Linked DNA regions of Homo sapiens: region 2 is linked to region 1. Evidence: promoter capture Hi-C in human tissues and cell types (Jung and others, 2019). All regions are on one chromosome and are shown on one strand. Each heading gives the region's core, a stretch centred on a gene start or on the middle of the fragment in contact. The rest is flanking DNA. Distances are from core to core; before and after follow the strand shown. Region 1 holds the start of ID1 (inhibitor of DNA binding 1). Region 2 has its middle 17 kb from the start of COX4I2.

What was found. Contacts are between HindIII fragments. The study calls those that stand out against the background at their distance.
Region 2: a contact is called between a fragment that was not itself captured here and the fragment with the promoter of ID1 in region 1, in 5 of the 25 tissues and cell types used here (IMR-90 fibroblasts, lymphoblastoid cells, mesenchymal stem cells and 2 more).

The regions. Positions count from the first base shown.
Region 1 is chr20:31,603,045-31,609,763 of GRCh38, forward strand. It overlaps ID1 (inhibitor of DNA binding 1), which reads left to right and starts at 2,245. Exons shown (of 2, transcript NM_002165.4): 1 at 2,245-2,769; 2 at 3,009-3,466. The coding sequence starts at 2,344. The coding sequence ends at 3,050. LOC105372588 (a long non-coding RNA gene) reads right to left here and starts at 2,151. Exons shown (of 2, transcript XR_936669.2): 1 at 2,059-2,151; 2 at 1,647-1,901. MIR3193 (microRNA 3193) reads left to right here and starts at 4,142; the gene lies at 4,142-4,196. RefSeq lists silencers at 1-116, 4,002-4,296, enhancers at 869-1,707, 1,443-1,622, 2,012-2,682, 2,683-3,352, 3,399-3,977 and a cis regulatory region at 5,358-5,933. The HindIII fragment of the contact is 38,824 bases long and covers 1-6,719 here.
Region 2 is chr20:31,651,782-31,658,497 of GRCh38, forward strand. No RefSeq gene overlaps it. Among named protein-coding and RNA genes, the nearest start is that of COX4I2, 17 kb to the left of the region's middle. The HindIII fragment of the contact is 5,343 bases long and covers 1,585-6,716 here.

The DNA of each region.
Region 1 (6,719 bases), core at 995-3,494:
TGCAGTCAGACTGCCTGCTCTCAGCAGGAAGCGGTTGCATTACAACACTGTACCCTCCTTATAATAACACAACTATGGTTATGACTTAGGCGTCGTGTGGAGCCTCAGTTTCCTTTGTATAAAGAAACCAAAGAGCTCCTTTCTTTAGAGTTGTGAAAAAGACTACAGAAGTTGATCAAGCCGGGTGACAGAGTAAGACCCTGTATCATTATTATTTTATTTTGAAACAGAGTCCCACTCTGTCGCCCAGGCTGGAGTGCAGTGGCATAATCTCGGCTCACTACAACCTCCGCCTCCTGGGTTCCAGCGAGTCTCCTGCCTCAGCCTCCTGAGTAGCTGGGGTATTACAGGTGCGCGCCACCACACCTGGCTAATTTTTCATTTTTAGTAGAGACGGGATTTCACCATGTTGGTCAGGCTGGTCTCGAACTCCTGACCTCGTGATCTGCCCACCACGGCCTCCCAAAGTGCTGGGATTACAGGCGTGAGCCACTGCGCCCGGCCCCCTGTATCCTTTTTTTTTTTTTTTTTTTTGAGACGAGTCTCACTCTGTCGCCAGGCTTGAGTGCAGTGGTGCGATCTCGGCTCACTGCAACCTCCGCCTCCCAGGTTCAAGCAATTCTCCTGTCTCAGCCTCCCGAGTAGCTGGGATTACAGGCGAACGCTACCATGCCCGGCTAATTTTTGTATTTTTAGTAGAGATGGGGTTTCACCATATTGGTCAGGCTGGTCTCGAACTCCTGACCTCAGGCAATCCACCCGCCTCGGCCTTCCAAATTGTTGGGATTACAGGCGTGAGCCACCGCGCAGCCCTTCATTTTTTAAAATAAGAAATAAATGAAAAAAGATGATCAAGACAAACTCTTCATACAGTGCCCGCTGTACAAAGTAAGAAATTAATAATGGTCACGTTTGTGATTATTATTTAAACACCAAGCAGATATTAAATATTAGGGCTCAGAGAGGGCATGCGACCCGCCTGAATTCACTCAGCTGCAGAGCTGGAAAGAGAACTCAGGCCTTTTTCCCCACGCTGGAAGGGGTAGCTGGGGCGGAGAGGTGGGGGGAGCGGTGAAGAAACCCCAAGCGGCCCAAGCTGTGGGTCTGGGTTGGGAGACTCGCAGGTGTGGGGCGGGGAGGTAAGGTGACCCTTGCTCAGCGACCGCGCCCGCAAGAAACGCATTCCCAGGCCTCCCGCCCGGGGTCTGCAGGTGACGGGCTGGGGGGAGCACGGGAACTAGCTAGACCAGTTTGTCGTCTCCATGGCGACCGCCCGCGCGGCGCCAGCCTGACAGTCCGTCCGGGTTTTATGAATGGGTGACGTCACAGGCCTGGCGTCTAACGGTCTGAGCCGCTGGTTCAGACGCTGACACAGACCGGCCCGGGAAGGGAGGGGGGAGACTGTAGCTCCGCAGCTGCCGCGCCGTGGGAGGGAGACCCTGCTCTGAGGTCTTTGAGAAGAAAATTTAAAAAGCAGCCAAAAATGGGAAAAAACATTAAAAAATCACGAACTGTTGCAGGTTCAGGAAATTTTTGCAAGGAGCTGCAAATTCAAGGTGGAATCGAATGCAGCCTCACTCCACTGCGCTCTATCTAGTTCACTTCCCAGCCACCCAGCCCCAAACTTACTAGACTTTCCCGAATTAATTGCTCCCACCCGGGAGGGATCTGGGTAGGCCCTCCGGGTCTCAGGAACACGAACAGCAACATTATTTAGGAATTGAGAAAGCCCAGGGGAGCAGATGTAAAGGAGCGCCCGCTTTAAATTTCGGTCCTGATATTTGTAGATCAGGGTCCGAGAAGCATCTTCCAAGAGGGTCCGGAAACCCAGGCTCTCTGGGCTATCCAGAGCCAGCCGCTTCTCCGTTCGGGCCTCAATTTCTCTCATCTGTGAAATGGAGCTGGAGAAGTGAGAAAGTGAATATGGGAAAAACTGATTCCTGAGGTCTTTTCATTATAAGGCAATGCCTGCTTAGCTTCCTTGCCTCCTTCCAGAGGAGCCCAGTGCGGCCCTCGCCTCTACCCGCTGCCCTGCCCGGTGCCCTGCCACCGACCCACCCTTGCTGTTCTGAAACCCGGGTCGTCTTTCCACACTGCGAGCAGGCACTAGACGAGCAGGAGGCTGGACCTAGGAGCGCGGGTCACGCCCCCATGCCGCCCATTGGCTGCTTTTGAACGTTCTGAGCCCGCCCCTCCGGGGGCCGTGGCGTGTTTATAAAAGACAAGCTGTGGCTCCGCACTCTCATTCCACGTTCTTAACTGTTCCATTTTCCGTATCTGCTTCGGGCTTCCACCTCATTTTTTTCGCTTTGCCCATTCTGTTTCAGCCAGTCGCCAAGAATCATGAAAGTCGCCAGTGGCAGCACCGCCACCGCCGCCGCGGGCCCCAGCTGCGCGCTGAAGGCCGGCAAGACAGCGAGCGGTGCGGGCGAGGTGGTGCGCTGTCTGTCTGAGCAGAGCGTGGCCATCTCGCGCTGCGCCGGGGGCGCCGGGGCGCGCCTGCCTGCCCTGCTGGACGAGCAGCAGGTAAACGTGCTGCTCTACGACATGAACGGCTGTTACTCACGCCTCAAGGAGCTGGTGCCCACCCTGCCCCAGAACCGCAAGGTGAGCAAGGTGGAGATTCTCCAGCACGTCATCGACTACATCAGGGACCTTCAGTTGGAGCTGAACTCGGAATCCGAAGTTGGAACCCCCGGGGGCCGAGGGCTGCCGGTCCGGGCTCCGCTCAGCACCCTCAACGGCGAGATCAGCGCCCTGACGGCCGAGGTGAGATCCAGATCCGACCACTAGATCATCCTTATACCGACGGGGAAACGGAGGCCAGAGAGGGCGTGGGCGCTTGCACCACTTCCGTCCCATCCTTGCGGGTACCTGGCTATGCGGGGGTGCCTAAGGAGCCTGGAAAAAGCGCTCCCCCGTCGTGCTTCCTGGGGAAGGGGGCGTTCGCTGCGCTCGGAGCGGCGTCCCTTCCAACCCGCCGGTCTCATTTCTTCTCGTTTTCACAGGCGGCATGCGTTCCTGCGGACGATCGCATCTTGTGTCGCTGAAGCGCCTCCCCCAGGGACCGGCGGACCCCAGCCATCCAGGGGGCAAGAGGAATTACGTGCTCTGTGGGTCTCCCCCAACGCGCCTCGCCGGATCTGAGGGAGAACAAGACCGATCGGCGGCCACTGCGCCCTTAACTGCATCCAGCCTGGGGCTGAGGCTGAGGCACTGGCGAGGAGAGGGCGCTCCTCTCTGCACACCTACTAGTCACCAGAGACTTTAGGGGGTGGGATTCCACTCGTGTGTTTCTATTTTTTGAAAAGCAGACATTTTAAAAAATGGTCACGTTTGGTGCTTCTCAGATTTCTGAGGAAATTGCTTTGTATTGTATATTACAATGATCACCGACTGAAAATATTGTTTTACAATAGTTCTGTGGGGCTGTTTTTTTGTTATTAAACAAATAATTTAGATGGTGGTAAAGTTGTAGTGACTTCTTGGGTTGAGGGGAGGGGCCTGGGCTGGGGGTTGACCCCTGACCCTCTTCACAGCTGGTTCTGGGAGGAGAATTGGAGGGCTACATCTGGATTGTTGCTCTTACCGGCCTGAATGAGTGTTTCCGGTGTCTTTAAAGTCTATTCTTCCCCCACCATCCCTGCCCATTTCCCTGCTCCCCAGTGTTATAAAACTAAATACTCCAGACCTCTGGGGTTTCTCACAGTGATCATTGGGCCATCTAGATCACCTGGGGAGGTTGTTAAAATGCAGATGAACCTGCCAGGGCCCCCTCTGTATTGGGAGTATTGAGCAAGCCATTTAAGTTGGAGAACCTGGCCGCTGGACCACCCACTTCCTTGCCAAGATGTGGATAAAGTGAGACCCAGTGGAAAGGGACTTGCTTAGGGCCATAGCTTGTGAGAGGCAGTGATTCTATCACCCCATTCCCCAGTTGGAGGTGCCTCCCCCAACAGCCTACCTCTGGGTTCCAGCAGGCAGCCCTGGGGCTCCTGGCTCATCCAAGTGGGTGAGCAAGTTGGCAGGGCCAGGCTGGGCACAGCTGCCGAGACACCTGCTCTGGGTCCAGACTCGGCCTCCTCACTCTGGCCTGGCTCTGTCGGCAGTTCAAACAAATCTCCCCCACCAACCCCGGGGCTCCTGCGTAGGATCTGAGGAGTGGACGAGTCTCATTACCCAGCTCCTGAGCAGGAAAAATATGTCATTGGCAAGGGTCTAAGAATCTTCCTGGACATGTATGTGGATTTCTACTCAGGGGAGCATGTATGAGTGTCTACGCCTGTGTATGTAACAGGAGTAAGCTGATCTTCCCCCACTACTCCCACAGTGGGGATGGGCCAACTGTTCACATATAGGCTTGGGGGAGGGGGTGTAAGTAGGAGTATGCTTGGGGGTGTGTGCAGAAGGGCAAATGAGAGCACATGTGTTCTGCAGATAAGTGTGGAACCTCCAGCTGTTTGGGCTTGTGTGTTCTGCCTAAATGCATTGTAGGCATCTCTGCATGGGTCTGGCATGATGGATGGGTTTGTGTGTCTGGGGGCCACAGAACCACACTGTGGGTTTCTGTGTGTATAACTGTTCTATAGATTGGTTGGCATTCCTGGGCCTCTGCGGGTCTGGAGTGAAGGTGGGGACAGCTGTGTTTGGGCAAACCCTTCCTCAAAAGTTCACGTGGCAACTCCCTGGGCTATCGTTAGGTCCTGGGGGCACCAACCCTCAAGGATTGCTGCCAGGTAAACCCCCCTGTATTACATATGGAGAAACTGAGTCCCAGGAATGACAAAGAACTTGTCCCAGACAGGTAAGGGCTATTAATATATTTTGTCAATAAACAATAGAATAAAATCAATAGCCCTTAGCACCAGAAGCCTGGCTCTGCTCAACTGAACCCTTTACAAAAACGATTTCATGGATCCCTGTGGGGCTAAAGGCAAGACTGTGATCCCAGTTTTACAGCAGAAGGAACAAGCTCAGAGAGGGGATGAACAAAAAATCAAATGAAAGATTATGATTTGAGCACTAACATTAAGCCAGGTACACCCCCTCCACAGTTTATGGATTTTATCGAAGAACCCAGTACTTGCAGGCGAATTATGTTCTTTGCTACCTCCTCCCCACCGGCTGCTGTATTACAGTACTAACCTCACGGAATGTAGTACAGAATAAATGAAATAAAGTAAGTGTGTAAAACGTTTAGCACAGTGCTTGGCACAGAATGTTTCATAGTTATAAATTATTATTGTCGCCTGTGAGTCCTTGGAGTGTCCTCGGAGGCACACGTGTGCACGCACGCACTCTCACGTGTGGGCCCCCGCCTGCAAGCCCACCCACGGGGTCTGAGCGGGTTCCCCCTCGCGTACTCCGACATGCAGGGCCTTTTTCCAGGGGAGGAAGGGGCTGCGGCGGGGGCCTGGGCCACCTCCCCCGCCATTCAGGCACACTCTGGATTCCACGTTTCCCTCTGTTCCCCTTTGGCCCAGACCCAGCCCATCTGGAGGCCGGCTCCGCGGCGGCCTGGGAGCGTTTCCATCAGCTGGGCCCGAGGAATGCGGAGCTATTTAACCTGAGCATCCCCAGGTGTACGGAGGCGCCTGGCTGTCTGGGGCCCGCAGCCTTTGGCACAGCCGCGCTAGACAAACAGCGCGCCGCCCCCGCCCTGCCCCTCCGCCCCCAGCTGCAGCCGGGCCTGGGAACCGGCGGGCGCCGGCGGCTTGCATAAGAGGCTCCGGGCCTCGCAGAGGGAGGGGGGACAGAGGCCACCGGTGTGTGTGCATGTAACACACAAAACCCTGCTCCTTTGGAAATCATTAACTCCTTAACCCCTCCTGGACAGGACGAAGCCAGGAGCTGGGGTGGAAGATGCCGAGAAACCCGAGGACCAAGTTTCTTGGGCACTGGACTCTGCCTTTCCGGGGCTGTACTGTTAATTTTATTTAAGAAATACAGAGAGCTTATTGTGTGCTGGGCACCATGCTAAACTCTTTACAATATCAATTCATTTAATCGTCAGAACTTGTTAACGAGGCCAGTGCTATCATCATATGCTCATTTTAATAAGAGCAACCACCACCACTACAACAAGAGTAATAGGCTAACATTTTAGTAGGGAGGCAGGTAGAACACAAGCCCAGAATCAACCTTGATGCTCATCACTTCACCTGTCAGAGCCTCTTCTTTTTTGGAAAACGGGCTTCAGAACCTGGGCTTCAAGGATTAATTGAACCAATGCACCTAAAAAGCATAGCACAGGCTCATGGTAGATACTTAGTGCATATTGCAATAAAGTGTTTTGAGCGGATTGTCTCAACAGCCCTACCAGGTGTGGGCCTACTGGTATATTCACTTTTTTGGTTTTTTTGAGACAGAGTCTCCCTCTATTGCCCAGGCTGGGGTGCGGTGGCACCATCTTGGCTCACTGCAACCTCCACCTCCCAGGTTCAAGTGATCCTCCTGCCTCAGCCTCCCGAGTAGCTGGGATTACAGGCACGTGCCACCATGCCCAGCTAATTTTTGTATTTTTTTTGTAGAAAAGGGTTTTCACCATGTTGGCCAGGCTAGTCTCGAACTCTTGACCTGAAGGGATCTGCCCACCTCAGCTTCCCGAAGAGCTGGGATTACAGATGTAAGCCACCGTGCCCGGCCTGTGTTCACTTTTCAGATGAGAAAACGGAGGCATCAAAGAGGTGAGGTGACCCACCCAAGGCCACATTGCACAT
Region 2 (6,716 bases), core at 3,006-5,505, 51 kb after region 1:
GAGCAGATAATAAAATATTCTACAGATGTGGAGAAATGACCAACACAAAATGAAGTTGAAGGCTGGGTGTGGTGGCTCACACCTGTAGTCCCAACACTTTTGGAGGTTGAGGCAGGAGGACTGCCTGAGGCCAGGATTTTGAGATTAGCCTGGGCAACATAATGAGACCTATCTCATTACGGTTGTTGTTGTTGTTGTTGTTGTTGTTGTTGTTGTTGTTTGAGACGGAGTCTTGCTCTGTCGCCCAGGCTGGAGTGCAGTGGCGCAATCTCAGCTCACTGACACTTCCGCCTCCTGGGTTGAAGCTATTCTTCTGCCTCAGCCTCCTGAGTAGCTGGGATTACAGGTGCATGCCACCATGCCTGGCTAATTTTTGTATTTTTAGTAGAGACAGGGTTTCATCATGTTGGCCAGGATAGTCTCCATCTCTTGACCTCATGATCTGCCCTCTTGGCCTCCCAAAGTGCTGGGATTACAGGCATGAGCCACCACGCCTGGCTGTGTCTCAGGTCTTAAGGTCCCTAGCTGGTCAGCCTTCTTTCCACTTTTCAGAGTTTCCTTTTCTTTTTCTTTCTTTCTTTTTTTTTTGAGATGGAGTCTCACTCTGTGGCCCAGGCTGGAGTGCAATGGCATGATCTCAGCTCACTGCAACCTCTACCTCCTGGGTTCAAGCAGTTCTCATGCCTCAGCCTCCTTAGCAGCTGGGATCACAGGCATGAGCCACCATGCCTGGCTATTTTTTGTATTTTTGGTAGATACAGGGTTTTGTCATGTTGGGCAGAATGGTCTCAAACTCCTGGCCTCAAGTGATCCATCTGCCTCAGCCTCCCAAAGTGCTGGGATGACAGGCATAAGCCACCGCGCCCAGCCTGAGTTTTCTTATTCTTATTTTATATACAGTGTCAAAGGTTCTTAGTTTTACTTAGGAGGAGAAATAGGGAAAAGTACATCTGCTCCATCTTCCTGGATGTGGAAGTCCAGTGGTTCTTCCTAATATATATTAAAATATCTTTTGATATATAATCTCTCTCTCTCTCCCTACCCCTCCCTCCCCTTCCATTTCATTTGTTGAAAAAAATTGAGTCATTTGTCCTGAGGATTTCCCCCAGTCTGTATTTTGGTAATTGCAATCCCATGTGTCTCTTATTATGCCCCTCTGTCCCCGTTGTTTTCTGTAAATGGTGATTACATTTAGAAGCTTAGACTCACGCTTGATTTTTTTGGCAAGAATATTTTATGGGTGTGCTGTGTTCTCTTGGCAGGCAGCACATGACGCCTGGTTGTCTTTGTGTAGCATTAGCAGCTTTCATTGGTCATTGTGTAGATTCATTAACTTATTAGGAGTACAGATGGCTTTCAAATACATGAAAAGATGCCAACCTCAATTAGATTTTTAAAAATGAAATTTTAAAGTATGAGTACTATTTTTTCATCTACCAGATTGACAAGGATCAGAGTGTTAACACGAATGTTGGCAAGAGTGCAGAGGACAGGCGATTTCATAGGCTGCCTGATTGGACTGTATCCATCAAAATGACTAATGTATACACCCTTTGGCCCAGCAATTCTACTTTTAGGGATGTACCCTGTGGATACATGTGCATATATGCAAAATGATGGATTGCAGTATTGTTTGGATTAGCAGGAGTTAAAGCCTGGGCAACATAGTGAGACCTTGTCTCTACTACAAATAAAAAAATATTAGCCGGGCATGGTGGTGCATGCCTGTGGTCCCAGCTACTTGGGAGGCTGAGGTGGGAGGATCCTCAAATTTGGGAAGTCAAGGCTGCAGTAAGTCACGATCATGTCACTGCGCTCCAGCCTGGGCAATAGAACAGACCCTGTCTCCAAAAACAAAAACAGTAACAACAGAAGTTGAGAACTACCAAATTGTTCCACCTGGAGTGCTACAAATTATCACAACTTGTGGCAGACGCTGTGGGCAATGTGCCTGCAGGATGCTCTCTGAAGCTTTGGTGGACAGTTCTCATTAAAGGGAACAGCCACCTGTGTGTTTTTGACCAAGCATGGGGCAGGCAGGAAATGCCAAACGTCAAGGAGAAAGTCCTGAAGCAGCCCTCCTCAGCCAATGAGGGATGAGTTGGTGGATAAACACCTTGGTGTTCTTTTCCCTCAGTGATAGAATTTTGAGCAGTGTTCCACGGGTTTTTCAAAGGATGCCCTGGTGGAGGAGCCCCATTGCCTGGAGTGGCAGCTTACTCATTATTACACCCTATATTGGCTGCCTGTCCTTCCTTGTGTCACTTCCCCACTTAAATCATTTGCCCCTGAATCTTTATTCTAGGCTTTGCTTTTGGGGGAAATCTACACTAAGGCAGAGCTTGGTGGTGGTTTGGCAGCACAGTCTGATACAATTTATAGTAGTTACTATAAAAAATAGTACTTACAGCCGGGCACGGTGGCTCACACCTGTAATCCCAGCACTTTGGGAGGCCAAGGTGGGCGGATCACAAGGTCAGGAGATCGAGACCATCCTGGCTAACACGGTTAAACCCCGTCTCTACTAAAAAATACAAAAAAATTAGCCGGGCAAGGTGGCGGGCACCTGTAGTCCCAGCTCTGTGGGAGGCTGAGGCAGGAGAATGGCATGAATCCGGGAGGCGGAGCTTGCAGTGAGCCGAGATGGCACCACTGCACTCCAGCCTGAACGACAGAGAGACTCCGTCTCAAAAAAAAAAAAAAAAAAAAATAGTACTTACAGTGCCAGATACCATCCTTAAGCACTTTACGAGCATTAAACCTGTGTAACTACCTCATGAAGTAGGTATGATTAGCACCCCTATTTTTTAGGCAAAAAACTCAGGAACAGAGAGGTTACGTCACTTGTCCAAGGGCACCTGCCTCCCCTGGGCAGTCTCGTTTCAGGGTCCTGCTCCAAACCATTACACTATCCTTTCTCTGGTCCCCTGCTGCTCCACCAGCATGAGCTGAGCTTGGCCACGGTTGGCCTCTTCGTTTCTGGACCTCTACTGTAGTGGTCAGCTGTGGAGAATGGCCATCCACCTACCCTCTACAGTTTGTTTTCCAGGTGCCCAGAGAGCTTGGCACAAAGTTCAGGTAAGATTGATATACCCTTTTGGGGACAGCCAAACAGCTGCGGAGGGATGTTCCACTTCATAAATGGTTTGTAAACTACAGCCCTATCATTATTTTAATTTATTATTATTATTTTTACAGTGCAATCATAGCAGTTATTTCTGGGGGAGGTTTGTTTGTTTTTTAAGTTTTTTTTTTTGTAGGGATGGAGTCTTGGTATGTTGCCCAGGCTGGTCTCAAACTCCTGGGCTGAAGCAATCCTCCTGCGTCAGTCTCCCAAAGTGGGATTATAGGCATAAGCCACCACGTCCAGCTTTTTGTTTGTTTGTTTGTTTCGAGATGGAGTTTTTGCTCTTGTTGCCCAGGCTGGAGTGCAATGGTGTGATCTTGGCTCACTGCAACCTCCACCTCCTGGGTTCAAGTGATTCTCCTGCCTCAGCCTCCTGAGTAGCTGGGACTACAGGCACCTGCCACCACGCCCAGCTAATTTTTGTATTTTTACCAGAGACGGGGTTTCACCATGTTGGCCAGGCTGGTCTGGAACTCCTCACCTCAGGTGATCCGCCCACCTTGGCCTCCCAAAGTGCTGGGATTACAGGCATGAGCCACCATGCCTGGCTTGTTTTTTACATCAGTGCAATTAGAGCCTGACGTGGGCACTTGTTGACGTGGGTACTGGTCATTTCCTATTCAGCAACAAATTTACAAACCATCTCGTTGGCCAGGCCACTATGTTATGTTTATATTATTTTCTATTTCATATTCAGAAAAACTTTTTCTTGCTTTATGTCCACATTCTTGGTATCTTAGTATTTTAAAAATGAGTTCCTCAAATTTTAACATTGACTTGTTAACAGTTCGTAATATGGCCATTTAAATTTCATTTAAGAACTTCAAGAATTCACAAGACTCTCTATAATGAAATTATTAAAACTAATTATTTATATGTGAATTTATTGAAATGAGATGGCTTAAATAATTCAGGAGAGAATACTCAACATGGTCAGAATTCTCATGTGAGTTTGTGCATATTAATTAAAAATCAGGCCAGGCGCAGTGGCTCACGCCTGTAATACTAGCACTTGGTAGGCCAAGGCTGGCGAATCGCCTGAGGTCAGGAGTTCGAGACCAGCCTGGCCAACATGGTGAAACCCTGTCTCTAGTAAAAATACAAATTTAGCTGGGCATGGTGGCAGGCACCTGTAGTCCCAGCTACTCGGGAGGCTGAGGCAGGAGAATCACTTGAACCCAGGGGACAGAGGTTGCAGTGAGCCAGGATGCACCACTGCACTCTAGCCTGGGCGGCAGAGCGAGACTCTGTCTCAAAAAAAAAGAAAGAAAGAAATGAACATATATGATCTATATAAATGTAGGTCTTCTTTGATTTTTATTTATTTATTTTATTTTTTTCGAGATGGAGTTTTGCTCTTGTTGCCCAGGCTGGAGTGCAATGGTGTGATCTTTGCTCACTGCAACTTTTGCCTCCTGGGTTCAAGCGATCCTCCTGCCTCAGCCTCCCGAGTAGCTGGGATTACAGGCATGCACCACCACGCCTGGCTAATTTTGTGTTTTTAGTAGAGACGGGGTTTCTCCATGTTGGTCAGGCTGGTCTCGAACTCCTGACCTCAGGTGATTTGCCCACCTCTGCCTCCCAAAGTACTGGGATTACAGGCGTGAGCCACCGCACTTGGCTATGCCCAGCCATTTCTATTATTTTCTTTTTCTTTCTTTCCTTTTTTTTTTTTGAGACGGAGTTTTGCTATTGTTGCTCAGGCTGGAGTGCAATGGCGCAATCTCGGCTCACTGCAACCTCTGCCTCCTGGGTTCAAGTGATTCTCCTGCCTCAGCCTCCCGAGTAGCTGGGATTACAGATACCCACCACCATGCCCAGCTAATTTTTTTGTATTTTTAGTAGAGATGGGGTTTCACCATGTTGCCATGTTGGCCAGGCTGGTCTTGAACTCCTGACCTCGGGTGATCTGCCCGCCTTGGCTTCCCAAAGTGCTGGGATTACAGGCACGAGCCACCACGCATGGCCCATTTCTATTATTTTCTATATAGTAAGAAATAGTTCTTGTTATTTTTGCCTCATGACAAAGGCTATGATGGTAGAGATAGAAAAATAGAAAGCTGGGCATTATGTAATACATTATTTTATTGTACTTTGTGTGTGTGTGTGTGTTTTTTTTTTTTGTTTTTTGTTTTTTTTTGAGACAGCCTCTAGCTCTGTCACCCAGGCTGGGGTGCAATGGCGTGATCTTAGGTCACTGCAACTTCCACCTCCTGGGTTCAAGCGATTCTCCTGCCTCAGCCTCCAGAGTAGCTGGGATTACAGGTGCGCGCCACCACACCTAGCTAATTTTTTTTTGTATTTTTAGTAGAAATGGGATTTCACCATGTTGGCCAGGCTGGTCTCAAACTCCTGACCTCAAGTGATCTGCCCGCCTCAGCCTGTCAAAGTCTGGAATTACAGGCGAGAGCCACCGCGGCCAGTCGATTTTATTTTATTTTCTGAGTCAGGGTCTTGCTCTGTCATCCAGGCTGGAGTTCAGTGATGTGATCACAGCTCACTGCAGCCTCAACCTTCTGGTCTCAAGCGATTATCTCACCTCAGGCTCCCTATTAGCTGGGAATACAGGCACGTGCCACCATGCCCAGCTAATTTTTGTATTTTTTTGTAAAGACGGGGTTTTGCCATGTTGCCCAGGCTGGTCTGGAACTCCTGGGTTCAAACAATCTGCCCACCTCAGCCTCCCAAACTGCTGGAATTACAGGTGTGAGCCACCACACCTGGCCTATGTAATAAATTTGATCATGACATAAGTTGCTGGTTTTTCTGCGTGATTTGTCAATTTTTAAAAATTGCACAAGTGAACCAGGCACAGTGGTTCACATCTGTAATCCCTAAACTTTGGGGGGTTGAGGCAGGAGGATCATTTGAGCCCAGGAGTTCCAGACCAGCCTGGGCAACATAAGGAAACCCTGTCTCTATTTAAAAAAAAAAAACATTGCACAAGCAATACACAAAATTATTATCTTAAACTTCTATAGACCCAGAAGACTATAAAGAAGTGAAAGCTGGCTAAAAAGCTTTTTTTTTTTAAATTTAATAAATCATGAACAGGTGTTAGCTGGGCACCGTGGCTCATGCCTGTAACCCCAGCACTTTGGGAGGCCGAGGCAGGCAGATCACCGGAGGTCAGGAGTTCGAGACCAGCCTCGCTAACATAGCGAAACCCCGTTGCTACTAAAAATACAAAAATTAGCTGGACGTGGTGGCGGGCATCTGTAATCCCAGCTACTCAGGAGGCTGAGTCAGGAGAATCACTTGAACTTGGGACGTGGAGACTGTGGCGAGTCAAGATGGCACCACTGCACTCCAGCCTGGGCAACAGAGCGAGACTCCATCTCAAAAAAAAAGAAAAAAATGAACAGGTGTTGAATTTTACAAAATACTATTTTCATATCTCCTGAAATAATCATAAGCATTTTCTTTGTTAATTTTTCAATACAATAAATTACATAGATAAATTTCTTGGCTGGGTGCGGTGGCTCACGTCTGTAATTCCAGCACTTTGGGAGGCCAAGGCAGGCGGATCACTTGAGGTCAAGAGTCCAAGACCAGCCTGGCAAACATGGTGAAACCCTGTCTCTATTAA